Regions from separate parts of the Homo sapiens genome. Here region 2 is linked to region 1. The links are contacts of gene promoters, found by promoter capture Hi-C in blood cells and fetal thymus (Javierre and others, 2016). All regions are on one chromosome and are shown on one strand. Each heading gives the region's core, a stretch centred on a gene start or on the middle of the fragment in contact. The rest is flanking DNA. Distances are from core to core; before and after follow the strand shown. Region 1 holds the start of BCAS1 (brain enriched myelin associated protein 1). Region 2 has its middle 4.7 kb from the start of TSHZ2-AS1.

Evidence for each region. The method cuts DNA at HindIII sites, captures the fragments that hold promoters and counts their contacts. A CHiCAGO score of 5 or more calls a contact.
Region 2: a fragment that was not itself captured here is called in contact with the fragment with the promoter of BCAS1 in region 1 in 1 of 17 cell types (neutrophils); the score reaches 5.3 in neutrophils.

The regions. Positions count from the first base shown.
Region 1 is chr20:54,067,063-54,074,221 of GRCh38, reverse strand. BCAS1 (brain enriched myelin associated protein 1) reads left to right here and starts at 3,628. Exons shown (of 13, transcript NM_001366298.2): 1 at 3,628-3,789. MIR4756 (microRNA 4756) reads left to right here and starts at 5,737; the gene lies at 5,737-5,814. RefSeq lists an enhancer at 4,035-4,909. The HindIII fragment of the contact is 13,812 bases long and covers 1-7,159 here.
Region 2 is chr20:53,505,760-53,512,346 of GRCh38, reverse strand. No RefSeq gene overlaps it. Among named protein-coding and RNA genes, the nearest start is that of TSHZ2-AS1, 4.7 kb to the right of the region's middle. RefSeq lists enhancers at 952-1,451, 1,452-1,953. The HindIII fragment of the contact is 4,853 bases long and covers 1,882-6,587 here.

The sequences.
Region 1 (7,159 bases), core at 2,379-4,878:
AGTTCAAACCCTTGTGGTTCAAGGGTCAGTTGTAGTGTTATCTTTGAACTTGGGTTGAGTAAGTAAAATCTGATGAGACAATGAAGCATAGTCATGAGATACAAGCAATATGCAAGTCTACTGTTCATTGCCACCTATTCACATATAACATCCATGATGCCCATGAGCAGAGAATGCCAGTGAGTTCATGACTATTCAGTAAGCCTCAAAGCAAGTAAAACACATGTGAGTTACAGCTGCAATTGAGTATGTGGAGGCACTGACACCCCAAGAGTCCAGGCTTTCCACGCAAATCAGAAATTATCTTCAATACAGAAAAAAGGCAGCACATTCTAAGAAACACAAACAACAAAAGAATCCTATCCTAGCCTTTCTTACCCAGGTTACCTCCCTGTAAGGGCCAACCACTTGTGCTGAAAATGATAACATAGCAAGACAGAAATATAGGGCAGCTTAGAGTTTCTTTTTCTTTTGATTTTTCCTTATTCATCAATAAACTGAAGATAGAGAGCATTAGTAGAATGGGTGAGTATCCAGAGGTAGAGTAAAAACAGTTGAATGATGACTTCTATGCAGCGTTTACACTGTTTTAGTGAGAACAGACTACGGGGGCCCCGTAACTAACTACAAAATACAAGTCGTATGATTTTGGTGATTCTGCCCTCGAGTTCATTGCATTTCAAACCAGCATGGCTTGATCTAAAGACGGATGGCAAAACTCACGCTGATCACTTACATTTTTATTTTTTCTTCCCTTAGAATGACTTCAAATAATAAGTAAAATACATGACAGGTAGAGAAAGAGACCAGGAAGGAGAGAAAACAGCTTTATGTTTCATACCTTTAACGGTACTTTTCCCTGCTTTTAGAACAAAGGGCTCATCGTTTTTGTTTTGCACTGGGTTCAGCAGATTATGTAGCCGGTCCTGCCTCATCACCACTCCTGACTACACCAGCTGATGCTTGGTGATGGTCTACAGTTTGCCAGACCCTTCATCACCACTCCTGACTACACCAGCTGATGCTTGGTGATGGTCTACAGTTTGCCAGACCCTTCATCACCACTCCTGACTACACCAGCTGATGCTTGGTGATGGTCTACAGTTTGCCAGACCCTTCATCACCACTCCTGACTACACCAGCTGATCCTTGGTAATGATCTACAGTTTGCCAGATCCTTCATCACCACTCCTGACTACACCAGCTGATGCTTGGTGATGGTCTACAGTTTGCCAGACCCTTCATCACCACTCCTGACTACACCAGCTGATCCTTGGTGATGATCTACAGTTTGCCAGATCCTTCATCACCACTCCTGACTACACCAGCTGATGCTTGATGATGGTCTACAGTTTGCCAGACCCTTCATCACCACTCCTGACTACACCAGCTGATCCTTGGTGATGATCTACAGTTTGCCAGATCCTTCATCACCACTCCTGACTACACCAGCTGATCTTTGGTGATGGTCTACAGTTTGCCAGACCCTTCATCACCACTCCTGACTACACCAGCTGATCCTTGGTGATGGTCTACAGTTTGCCAGATCCTTCATCAACACCCTTGACTACACCAGCTGATGCTTGGTGATGGTCTACGTTTTGCCAGACACACTGCTGAGTGCCCCCACCTGAATGATTTTTCTTAATCTCCTAAATCACTCATATCCCTAAACCTTATGTTTTTCTTCTGTAAAATGGGAGCAAAAGATCTTAATTTCACTGTGGACATAAATGAAATGGACGGATAAACACAAAAGGCTTTGCAAAGACTAATGCCATCCAAATGGCAGTTACTGCCATGTATAATTTAAAAGAGAGCAAGACAATGGGGAGTGTTAGCTCACGCCTATAATCCCAGCACTTTGGGAGACTGAGGCGGGTGGATCACTTGAGGTCAGGAGTTCCAGACCAGCCTGGCCAACATGGAGAAACCCCACCTCTACTAAAAATACAAAAATTAGCCAGGCATGGTGGTGCACACCTGTAGTCCCAGCTACTTAGGAGGCTGAGGCAACAGAATTGCTTGAACCTGGGAGGCAGAGGTTGCAGTGAGCCGAGATAACACCACTGCACTCCAGTCTGGATGACAAAGCAAGACTCCGTCTTAAAAAAAAAAAAAAAAAGAATGAACAAGTCCAATCAGCCAGGAGTTGCAGAGTACCTACTCTATCATAGAGGGATCCCCATCCTCGTTTTGCAGGGTGCCAGGAGTTGGGGATACAAGAATAGATGCAAAATAAACACAAAGGAGCACACAGCTGAGGGGGCTGACAGAGACTTAGGGAAGTACAGTAGCTTGCTCATAATTCCACAGCCGATCAGTAAGAATCAAGATCCGAGCCCTTGTCTGTCTCAACCCAGGGCCAGAGCTCAAGCTCCTGAGCCTCCAGGCTTGGGTCAGCACAGAGCGTGTGCATGGCAGCTGCTTAATAATTGGGTTTACTACATTCCAGATTGACATGTACAGTGCTGAGCTGGAATCGACTTTACAACCCTAATTACGGTGTGCCTGGTTGTGTATTCAGCATTTATTTAAATAGTATTTTTTTTCTTAAATGTTGATTTCTGAAAGAGGCCTTCCCCAGCTCTCTCTATTTCTCTCCCTTAGCTGCCTTGGCTTTTCTTTTATAATGAGAATCACACCCTGTAATTCTATGTTTATATTTACAGGATTCTATGTCCAATGACACTGAGTGCAAGAAGGGTAGAGACCCAGCATCTTTTACTCACCTCTTTAAACTCTGGCTTATATATATAGCCTGGTGCTTGACAAGTATTCATGATAGGGGTTAAGCTGAGTATACTGTTGAATAAAACCACAATAATTATTGGTCGCAATTCTCTTGAATGTCTTCTCCAGAGCACTAAGTAGTGTAACTTATCAAGTTTCCTTTCTTGCATTGGCTGTTAGGAAGCTCAAAGCCATATCTGCAAACCCTTCATAGCAAGTCTGTAAATCAACAAGAGCATTTATTTTTGATCCTGTTCTCATTTGATGTTCCAAATTTTGTTCTTCAATCTTCTTTTGTTACATGTTATTTCATGCTCTCATAATCTATTGTATATGTCCTTGTAAGACACTTTAAACAACATCCTTGCTTGAATTAAATAAATTGCATAGCCTGTCGAATTTCTGGCCTGCAAAGAAAAAGAATGCCCTTTCCAACATCATGGTATGTCTCCAGAGCAATAAACCACCCTCAGGTTACCTGATTTCTGGTGTCCAAACCCCTTTGGGAATAAGGTTTACATGACTAGGGGTAGTTGAGTGGATGAGAAGCTATTTCCTTCCAATTAGGTGGTTAGGTGGTGGTGGAGGTGGTGTTCTGAAGTCAGCAGACAGAACTACAAAATCTCACAGAACGTGTTTTCCCTGCTCTGACCATGACCTACGGTTACTGGGGAAGGAAACTGCTTCCCCAGGTCAACCCGGCAGCCTCAGTAGGTGAGGGGCACTGGGTAGAATACTTGGGGTGCCAGGGAGGCATTAATGCGAGAGGAGTCAGGTGCTCAGTTTTTATTGGAGTTGGGAGGGCAGCCCCACATCAGGAAGAGAACCTGTTTCTGCAGGATGGTCCGGGGAGAAGGGAGGACTCCACCCAGGCTTGTGTTTGCCCTGCTCTGTGTATTCAGCCAGCAGGCTCTGCACAAGGAAGCAAAGTGCAGGGAGCCAGGCTCCACCGACAGCCAGGCACTGGGCAGCACGCACTGGAGACCCAGGACCCTGTGCAGGAGCAGCTCCGGGTGACACGAGGGGACTGAAGATACTCCCACAGGGGCTCAGCAGGTAACTGCTTTCAGATCCTTTAGGCATGGCTGGAGGGTTTGCTGTTTGTGGTAGACGGTGTCATATAGAGGCCAGGGGTCAGACAGGGTCAAGTTTGATCCCAGCTCTGCCTTCTGTTCACTGTGTGGCCTTGGATATGTGTAAGCCTCAGTTCCACTATCTGTGAAATGGACCCAAAGATAGCACTCATCTCAAAGTTTTTAGTTTTACAAGGAGCAAATGACAATGTGGTCAGTGTTAGGCGCATAGCCACATAAATAACTCCTATTTGGTGGAACTATTGAGGGTCATTTCAAGCACAGGACATGGGGAGAAGTCACTGGATGGAGGGATAGGCTGTGTGATTTGGGGATCCGTCAGGGCAAGAATGCCCCATAGCCGAGTGGAATCTGAGCCTTCACCTCAGGCATTGCCTAAAGAAGTGGGAGGACAAGAAAAAGGACTTGTGGAGTGCCTTTTGTGAATCTTATTTAACGCTCAAGACCACCCTATGAGGCAGCTGCTGATTCAAATCCTGGCTTCAGGACCCCTGCTGTTTACATCTCCCTCTGAACCAGTTTCCTGCCTGGAAGAGTCATTGCGATTAGAATGCGGGTGCGCTGCAGCCACACCGCCAGATGCCAGCCCCAGCTCCACCCTGGGCTGGCTGGGTGCCCTGGAGCAGGTTCCCTCAGCCCTCTGGGCCTCAGTTTCCTCATCTGTAAAGTGAACCTAATAACAGTACTGAGATCAAAGGGCTGAGAGGACTCTACTGCCCGTAAATACCTGTGCACTTAGTAACTCTTAGCTGTGGTTCTTGTTTTCGCTGTTACCATCGTCTCCATTTTACAACTAGGAACATGAAGCTGGGTGAAGAGGGAGCTGCATCTGGTTCCAGGTCTCATGGAAAGGATGCTGTGGAACTGGAGTCCAGTCGGGCCTGGGATGAGGGTGCAGCCAGTGAGACTCTCACCTTGGGCACGAAATGTAAGGGATGCCAAAAAACTCAGTCATGGAGATAAACGGTATGTTAACACAACATTTTTAAAAGTCAGAATTAATGGCAAGACACCCGTGATGAACAAACTATGAACATGTTACAGAAAGATAAGATCAGGAACAGCGGTAATTTTGATTTTCACAAATTTCATGTTAAAATACTATTCATCTCCATGGCTGAGCTTTTTGGTGTCCCTTACATTGTTCCCCCGGAGTCCAGGGCCTGATCCGCCTCAGCCTCCTGGGGATCCTGAGCTGATCACAGCAGCTTCAGGCCCTGGGTGTATATACTCAGGGTATGTAGAGGGTGCTTCCTCCTAAATAAAGACAACAGACGGGGCGGGGCATGCTAAAGTAGTTTCTCATTTAAGTGAGGGTGGGGGAACAAACCAATGTCCCAAATCACAGAAGATTCTTTTTTTCCAAAGAGTTCTGGAACCCAGAAGGGTTTTGTTTTTAGGAAAAAGGCATGAGCTTTGGGAAAAGCAATGGGCCCGTTAAAGCCCATGGATTCTGCCTGCTTTACCATGACAAGAGATGTGGAGGGAGAGGAATTGAAAAAGGCTTTGGGTTGGGGGCGGGGGTACCTTTGCACCTTGCAGGCTCATCTGTCCTGCTGGAGTATTAGATGTGACTTGATTGTCTCTGTGTCTGCAGCTTCTCTTCAAGCCAAGTGCCCTGCCCTGAAGCAGTTCAGGATTTGAGTGCCTGAGTCACGTGGACCCAGGTTCAAACCCCAGGTGTGCCTCCCCGTAGCTTTCTGACTGCTACTCTTGGGCAAGTAGGACTAGTAAGGTGCCTACCCTCATGGAGGTGACGTTCGTGAGATGAGGGGATGGCATTGCTCAGCCTTGGTTTCTTTATCTGTGCAATCAGGGAATAATGGGACTCTGCAAGGGAAAAGGAGACAATGTGTGTGAAGTGCCTGGCACCAGGGTCAGGGCAAGGGTGAAGCCAGTGAGCACCTGGGGGATAAAATGCAGGGAGGCGCTCACTCTCTGCTGCCGATTCTGCACCAGAGATGGTTGCCTTCCTATATTTTGTGTCCTGCTATGCTCACCCTGGTGCTGCCTGGCACATAGTAAGCCTCCAATTAAAATTACCTGCGATTATCATGCACTTAACAATGTTTGGTGCAATAATAAGACTATGAGAGCGAGCTCTAAGATTTTTAGGATTACCATCCGTTTGTGCAAACATAATTAAGTACTCCGAAAGCAAAACATCAATCACCAAGCAGCCCTAAAACATCCAAGGTGATTTTGATCAAGGCACCCCTGCCCCTGGACCCACAAAGTCCCATACCAGGAATCAGGGCTTGGGCAGTTCAGTGAGGACTGGATTTCAGTTCCCTGTGTCCCCTTGTACAGGAGGCAACCTGTAGCACTGTACCTGGCACTCCTGATAATAGCTGCCGTGTTCCTAGCACTGTGCGGGCACACACATGGAGCTGCAGGACTGTGGGGCAGGCAAAGCGGGGTTGTTCTTTCCTCCTGCAAGGTCTTTACTGATGTTGGGGGCAGAGGGCTGGTTCTGCTGGGTGTGCCAGCCTGGCCATGTTGGCGTCACCCTCAGCTGAGCAGTGAGGAGGGCCCCTGGGTTACCTACATTCCATTGCATTGATCGAAGGTGTTGCTTGTTTACTTGGTGACTAATTCTGTCACCATTCCACCCTTCAAAACCACCCCCCCTCCCATTCAACAGTCGTCTAGCTGCCTGCTGGTGATGAAGTTTCAGAAGTGCTTTCTCCAGGCCAGCTTGCATGGGGTTTGGCGTTTGGCCTGTTTCCAGGAGGAGGGCCTATTATTAATCTGTAACTACAAGGAGGCGACATGGACCATCAATCACTGTGTAAAAGAGGAGGGATTTGAGGGCAGCTTCCAGGAGGCCAATTCACTCATGGATCAGAACACAGAACTAACTCAATTATAACAATAATAAGATAAATGAATAATATTAGCAATAACTAACGTTTACTCACCTGAGTACTGCCAAGCCCTGGCGCTAAATCCTTACAGTGATTATCAGTGACCCTTCAATTGTTCAATCCTCACTTTATTTGATTTATTTATTTACTTATTGAGAGAGTTTCATTCTGTCGCTCAGGCTGGAGTGCAGCGGTGTGATCTCGGCTCACTGCAACCTCCGCTTCCTGGGTTCAAGCGATTCTCCTGCCTCAGCCTCCCAAGTAGCTGGGATTACAGGCATTGTGCCTCCACATCTGGCTAATTTTTGTATTTTTAGTAGAGACAGGGTTGCGCCATGTTGGCCAGGATGGTCTCAAACACCTGACCTCAAGTGATCCACCCACCTCAGCCTCCCAAACTGCTGGGATTACAGGCATGAGCCACAGCGCCCGGCCTAATCCTCACTTTAGATTGTACCATATATA
Region 2 (6,587 bases), core at 3,059-5,558, 560 kb after region 1:
GCACTGTCTTGTGGCTGAGGGGATCCTGTGCTGTCACAGCGCAGTTCAGGATCTGAGGTTCGGCTCGGGTCTCCGTTTGCTCCATGGCTCTGCACAGCTGTAAGCTCTCCCACCTGGGCCTCTGTGTCTTCATCTCTGCCGTGCATGATGCACGTTTTCCTCTATAATGCAGTGAGGGCCCTCCAGAGGGACAGAATTTATAGGACATATGTATATATATATATTTTGTTTGTTTGTTTGTTTTGTTTTTTTAAGACGGAGTATCACTCTGGAATGTCACCCAGGCTGGAGTGTAGTGGTATAATCTCAGCTCACTGCAACCTCCACCTCCCAGGTTCAAGCAATTCTCCTGCCTCCGCCTTCTGAGTAACTGGGACTACAGGTGCCTGCCACCACGCCTGGCTAATTTTTGTATTTTTATTTATTTTTGTTTTTATTTTTTTTGAGACAGAGTCTCACTCTGTTGCCCAAGCTAGAGTGCAGTGGTGCTATCTTGGCTCACTGCAACCTTCACCTCCTGGGTTCAAGCAGTTCTCCTGTTTTAGCCTCCCGAGTAGCTGGAATTACAGGCGTGCAGACCACCAGGCCTGGCTGCTTTTTGTATTTTTAGCAGAAACGAGGTTTCACCATGTTGGTCAGGCTGGTCTTGAACTCCTGACCTCAAGTGATCCGCCTGCCTCGGCCTCCCAAAGTGCTGGGATTACAGACATGAGCCATCGTGCCCGGCTGGATATATGTATATATGGAAGGGAGTTTATTAAGGAGAACTGACTCACATGATCATAAGGTAAAAGTCCCACAATAGGCCGTCTGCAAGTTGAGGACAAGGAAGCCAGTAGTGGCTCAGTCCAAGCCCCAAAACCTCAAAAGTAGGGAAGCCGACAGTGCAGCCTTCAGTCTGTGGCCGAAGGCCTGAGATTCCCTGGCAAACCACTGGTGTAAGTCCAAGAGTCCAAAGGCTGAAGAACCTGGAGTCTGGTGTTTAAGGGCAGGAAGAATCCAGCACAGGAGAAGGATGAAGGCTGGAAGACTCAGCCAGCCAGCTTATCCCACCTTCTTCTGCCTGCTTTTTCTAGCTGCACTGGCAGCTGATTGGATGGTGCCCACCTACACTGTAGGTGCATCTTCCTGGGGGTGGGTCTTCCTCTCCCAGTCCACTGACTCAAATGATAATGTCTTCTGGCAACACCCAGACACACCAAGGTACACTCAGAAACAATACTTTGCATCCTTCAGTCCAATCAAGCTGACACTTAACCATCACAGGAGCATACCTGAGGCTGCTTGGAGCGAGACTATCACCCGGCCTTTGTCATGTGCACCACGCCAACGTGACTTCTTTGCGCTCCCACTGTGTCTTAGCCACAGGGTGTGGTGCTGGGGACGCAGGCTGGGGCATGAGGGGGAAGGCTGCTGGAGCCCTGCCCCTAGTGCATGTGGGAGACAAGCAGACAGCTCACATGACCGCAACTGCCAGGACCTTTGCAACAGCTCATGTGACTGCAACTGCCAGGATCTTTGCAACAGCTCATGTGACTGCAACTGCCAGGACCTTTGCAAGAGGGAGGTCCAGGGTGGGACTGGAGGGCAGGGGACTTTTTCTAAGCCGAGAGTCAGAGGCAGTCCTTAGGGGAAGCTGAAGGGTGAGGGACAGTGGGAAGACCAGGGTCCCAGCACATGCAAAGGTACGGTGGCAGGTGCTGGGATCCAGAGGACTCCAGTTTGGCTGGAGTGTAGAATGTGCTGGAATGGCAGGAGCCAGACCAGACAGAGTCTCAGGCCTGCTGAGTCCTTTGGAGCATATCTGGGGCCACAGGGGGACGATAAAAGTAATCAATCCAGGATGAGCGCAGGCAGGACAGGCTGGGGGCGCAGGAAGCTTGCCCTTACTTCTGAGAACATCGTGTGTTTTCCCAAAGCCGTTCGGTTTCCCTCGAGACAGGAGGAGCTTAGTTCTGGAGCCTGGGAAGCAGACCAAGGAGGGGCTGGAAGACCTAGAGGGGGAAGTGAGACACCAGCTCATATTTCAAAGGTCTTTGCTTGTCATGTTCACTTTCTCCGGGAAGTGCCTGTCCTCCATTATTCATCCTGCAGCCTCCAGGCCTCACCGGGTCTTCTTAGAAGTCCTGCAACACCTCTTGGTAATAGCATGGGCCTTAGGTCCCTAAAGTTTGCACATAGTGAAGAAACTATCATTTTTAAAGGGCCCACCATTTCCCAAGACTCATGCTAGGGGCTCACAAGAGTGTGGACTTTCCCACACCACAAACGTTAAGTCTGAATTTCAGGTCTACATGTCAAGTGGTGTGTGATACTGAGCAATGCGAATCTTCTCATCTGTGAAATGGGGGGTGACTAGTACCCTGCGGGCTGCTGTGAGAATCAGTCCATTTCTCAGCATGATGTCTTACTAGGCAAGCGTCACTACACAGCACATATGAAGGTATTAGCTAAGACTCATTTATGTATCTGTTTTTTTTTTTATTATACTTTAAGTTTTAGGGTACATGTGCACGTCGTGCAGGTTAGTTACATATGTATACATGTGCCATGCTGGTGCGCTGCACCCACTAACTCGTCATCTAGCATTAGGTATATCTCCCAATGCTATCCCTCCCCGCTCCCCCCACCCCACCACAGTCCCCAGAGTGTGATATTCCCCTTCCTGTGTCCATGTGATCTCATTGTTCAATTCCCACCTATGAGTGAGAATATGCGGTGTTTGGTTTTTTGTTCTTGTGATAGTTTACTGAGAATGATGATTTCCAATTTCATCCATGTCCCTACAAAGGACATGAACTCATCATTTTTTATGGCTGCATAGTATTCTATGGTGTATATGTGCCACATTTTCTTAATCCAGTCTATCATTGTTGGACATTTGGGTTGGTTCCAAGTCTTTGCTATTGTGAATAATGCCGTAATCAACATACGTGTGCATGTGTCTTTATAGCAGCATGATTTATAGTCCTTTGGGTATATACCCAGTAATGGGATGGCTGGGTCAAATGGTATTTCTAGTTCTAGATCCCTGAGGAATCGCCACACTGACTTCCACAATGGTTGAACTAGTTTACAGTCCCACCAACAGTGTAAAAGTGTTCCTATTTCTCCACATCCTCTCCAGCACCTGTTGTTTCCTGACTTTTTAATGATTGCCATTCTAACTGGTGTGAGATGGTATCTCATTGTGGTTTTGATTTGCATTTCTCTGATGGCCAGTGATGATGAGCATTTTTTCATGTGTTTTTTGGCTGCATAAATGTCTTCTTTTGAGAAGTGTCTGTTCATGTCCTTCACCCACTTTTTGATGGGGTTGTTTGTTTTTTTCTTGTAAATTTGAGTTCATTGTAGATTCTGGATATGAGCCCTTTGTCAGATGAGTAGGTTGCGAAAATTTTCTCCCATTTTGTAGGTTGCCTGTTCACTCTGATGGTAGTTTCTTTTGCTGTGCAGAAGCTCTTTAGTTTGATTAGATCCCATTTGTCAATTTTGTCTTTTGTTGCCATTGCTTTTGGTGTTTTGGACATGAAGTCCTTGCTCATGCCTATGTCCTGAATGGTAATGCCTAGGTTTTCTTCTAGGGTTTTTATGGTTTTAGGTCTAACGTTTAAGTCTTTAATCCATCTTGAATTGATTTTTGTATAAGGTGTAAGGAAGGGATCCAGTTTCAGCTTTCTACATATGGCTAGCCAGTTTTCCCAGCACCATTTATTAAACAGGGAATCCTTTCCCCATTGCTTGTTTTTCTCAGGTTTGTCAAAGATCAGATAGTTGTAGATATGCGGCATTATTTCTGAGGGCTCTGTTCTGTTCCATTGATCTATATCTCTGTTTTGGTACCAGTACCATGCTGTTTTGGTTACTGTAGCCTTGTAGTATAGTTTGAAGTCAGGTAGTGTGATGCCTCCAGCTTTGTTCTTTTGGCTTAGGATTGCCTTGGCGATGCGGGCTCTTTTTTGGTTCCATATGAACTTTAAAGTAGTTTTTTCCAATTCTGTGAAGAAAGGCATTGGTAGCTTGATGGGGATGACATTGAATCTGTAAATTACCTTGGGCAGTATGGCCATTTTCACGATATTGATTCCTCCTACCCATGAGCATGGAATGTTCTTCCATTTGTTTGTATCCTCTTTTATTTCCTTGAGCAGCGGTTTGTAGTTCTCCTTGAAGAGGTCTTTAACATCCCTTGTAAGTTGGATTCCTAGGTATTTTATTCTCTTTGAAGCAATTGTGAATGGGAGTTCACTCATGATTTGGCTCTCTGTTTGTCTGTTGTTGGTGTATAAGAACGCTTGTGATTTTTGAACATTGATTTTGTATCCTGAGACTTTGCTGAAGTTGCTTATCAGCTTAAGGAGATTTTGGGCTGAGACAGTGGGGTTTTCCAGATATACAATCATGTCATCTGCAAACAGGGACAGTTTGACTTCCTCTTTTCCTAATTGAATACCCTTTATTTCCTTCTCCTGCCTAATTGCCCTGGCCAGAACTTCCAACACTATGTTGAATAGGAGTGGTGAGAGAGGGCATCCCTGTCTTGTGCCAGTTTTCAAAGGGAATGCTTCCAGTTTTTGCCCATTCAGTATGATATTGGCTGTGGGTTTGTCATAGATAGCTCTTATTATTTTGAAATACGTCCCATCAATACCTAATTTATTGAGAGTTTTTAGCATGAAGGGTTGTTGAATTTTGTCAAAGGCTTTTTCTGCATCTATTGAGATAATCATGTGGTTTTTGTCTTTGGCTCTGTTTATATGCTGGATTACATTTATTGATTTGCATATATTGAACCAGACTTGCATCCCAGGGATGAAGCCCACTTGATCATGGTGGATAAACTTTTTGATGTGCTGCTGGATTTGTTTTGCCAGAATTTTATTGAGGATTTTTGCATCAATGTTCATCAAGGATATTGGTCTAAAATTCTCTTTTTTGGTTGTGTCTCTGCCTGTCTTTGGTATCAGAATGATTCTGGCCTCATAAAATGAGTTAGGGAGGATTCCCTCTTTTTCTATTGATTGGAATAGTTTCAGAAGGAATGGTACCAGTTCCTCCTTGTACCTCTGGTAGAATTTGGCTGTGAATCCATCTGGTCCTGGACTCTTTTTGGTTGGTAAACTATTGATTATTGCCACAATTTCAGCTCCTGTTATTGGTCTATTCAGAAATTCAACTTCTTCCTGGTTTAGTCTTGGGAGAGTGTATGTGTCGAGGAATTTATCCAGTTCTTCTAGATTTTCTAGTTTATTTGCATAGAGGTGTTTGTAGTATTCTCTGATGGTAGTTTGTATTTCTGTGGGATCGGTGGTGATATCCCCTTTATCATTTTTTATTGCGTCTATTTGATTCTTCTCTCTTTTTTTCTTTATTAGTCTTGTTAGCGGTCTATCAATTTTGTTGATCCTTTCAAAAAACCAGCTCCTGGATTCATTAATTTTTTGAAGGGTTTTTTGTGTCTCTATTTCCTTCAGTTCTGCTCTGATTTTAGTTATTTCTTGCCTTCTGCTAGCTTTTGAATGTGTTTGCTCTTGCTTTTCTAGTTCTTTTAATTGTGATGTTAGGGTGTCAATTTTGGATCTTTCCTGCTTTCTCTTGTGGGCATTTAGTGCTATAAATTTCCCTCTACACACTGCTTTGAATGAGTCCCAGAGATTCTGGTATGTTGTGTCTTTGTTCTCATTGGTTTCAAAGAACATCTTTATTTCTGCCTTCATTTCGTTATGTATCCAGTAGTCATTCAGGAGCAGGTTGTTCAGTTTCCATGTAGTTGAGCGGTTTTGAGAGAGATTCTTAATCCTGAGTTCTAGTTTGATTGCACTGTGGTCTGAGAGATAGTTTGTTATAATCTCTGTTCTTTTACATTTGCTGAGGAGAGCTTTACTTCCAAGTATGTGGTCAATTTTGGAATAGGTGTGGTGTGGTGCTGAAAAAAATGTATATTCTGTTGATTTGGGGTGGAGGGTTCTGTAGATGTCTATTAGGTCCGCTTGGTGCAGAGCTGAGTTCAATTCCTGGGTATCCTTGTTGACTTTCTGTCTCGTTGATCTGTCTAATGTTGACAGTGGGGTGTTAAAGTCTCCCATTATTAATGTGTGGGAGTCTAAGTCTCTTTGTAGGTCACTCAGGACTTGCTTTATGAATCTGGGTGCTCCTGTATTGGGTGCATATATATTTAGGATAGTTAGCTCTTCTTGTTGAATTGATCCCTTTACCATTATGTAATGGCCTTCTTTGTCTCTTTTGATCTTTGTTGGTTTAAAGTCTGTTTTATCTGAGACTAGGATTGCAACCCCTGCCTTTTTTTGTTTTCCATTTGCTTGGTAGATCTTCCTCCATCCCTTTATTTTGAGCCTATGTGTGTCTCTGCACGTGAGATGGGTTTCCTGAATACAGCACACTGATGGGTCTTGACTCTTTATCCAATTTGCCAGTCTGTGTCTTTTAATTGGAGCATTTAGTCCATTTACATTTAAGGTTAATATTGTTGTGTGTGAATTTGATCCTGTAATTATGATGTTAGCTGGTGATTTTGCTCGTTAGTTGATGCAGTTTCTTCCTAGTCTCGATGGTCTGTATATTTTGGC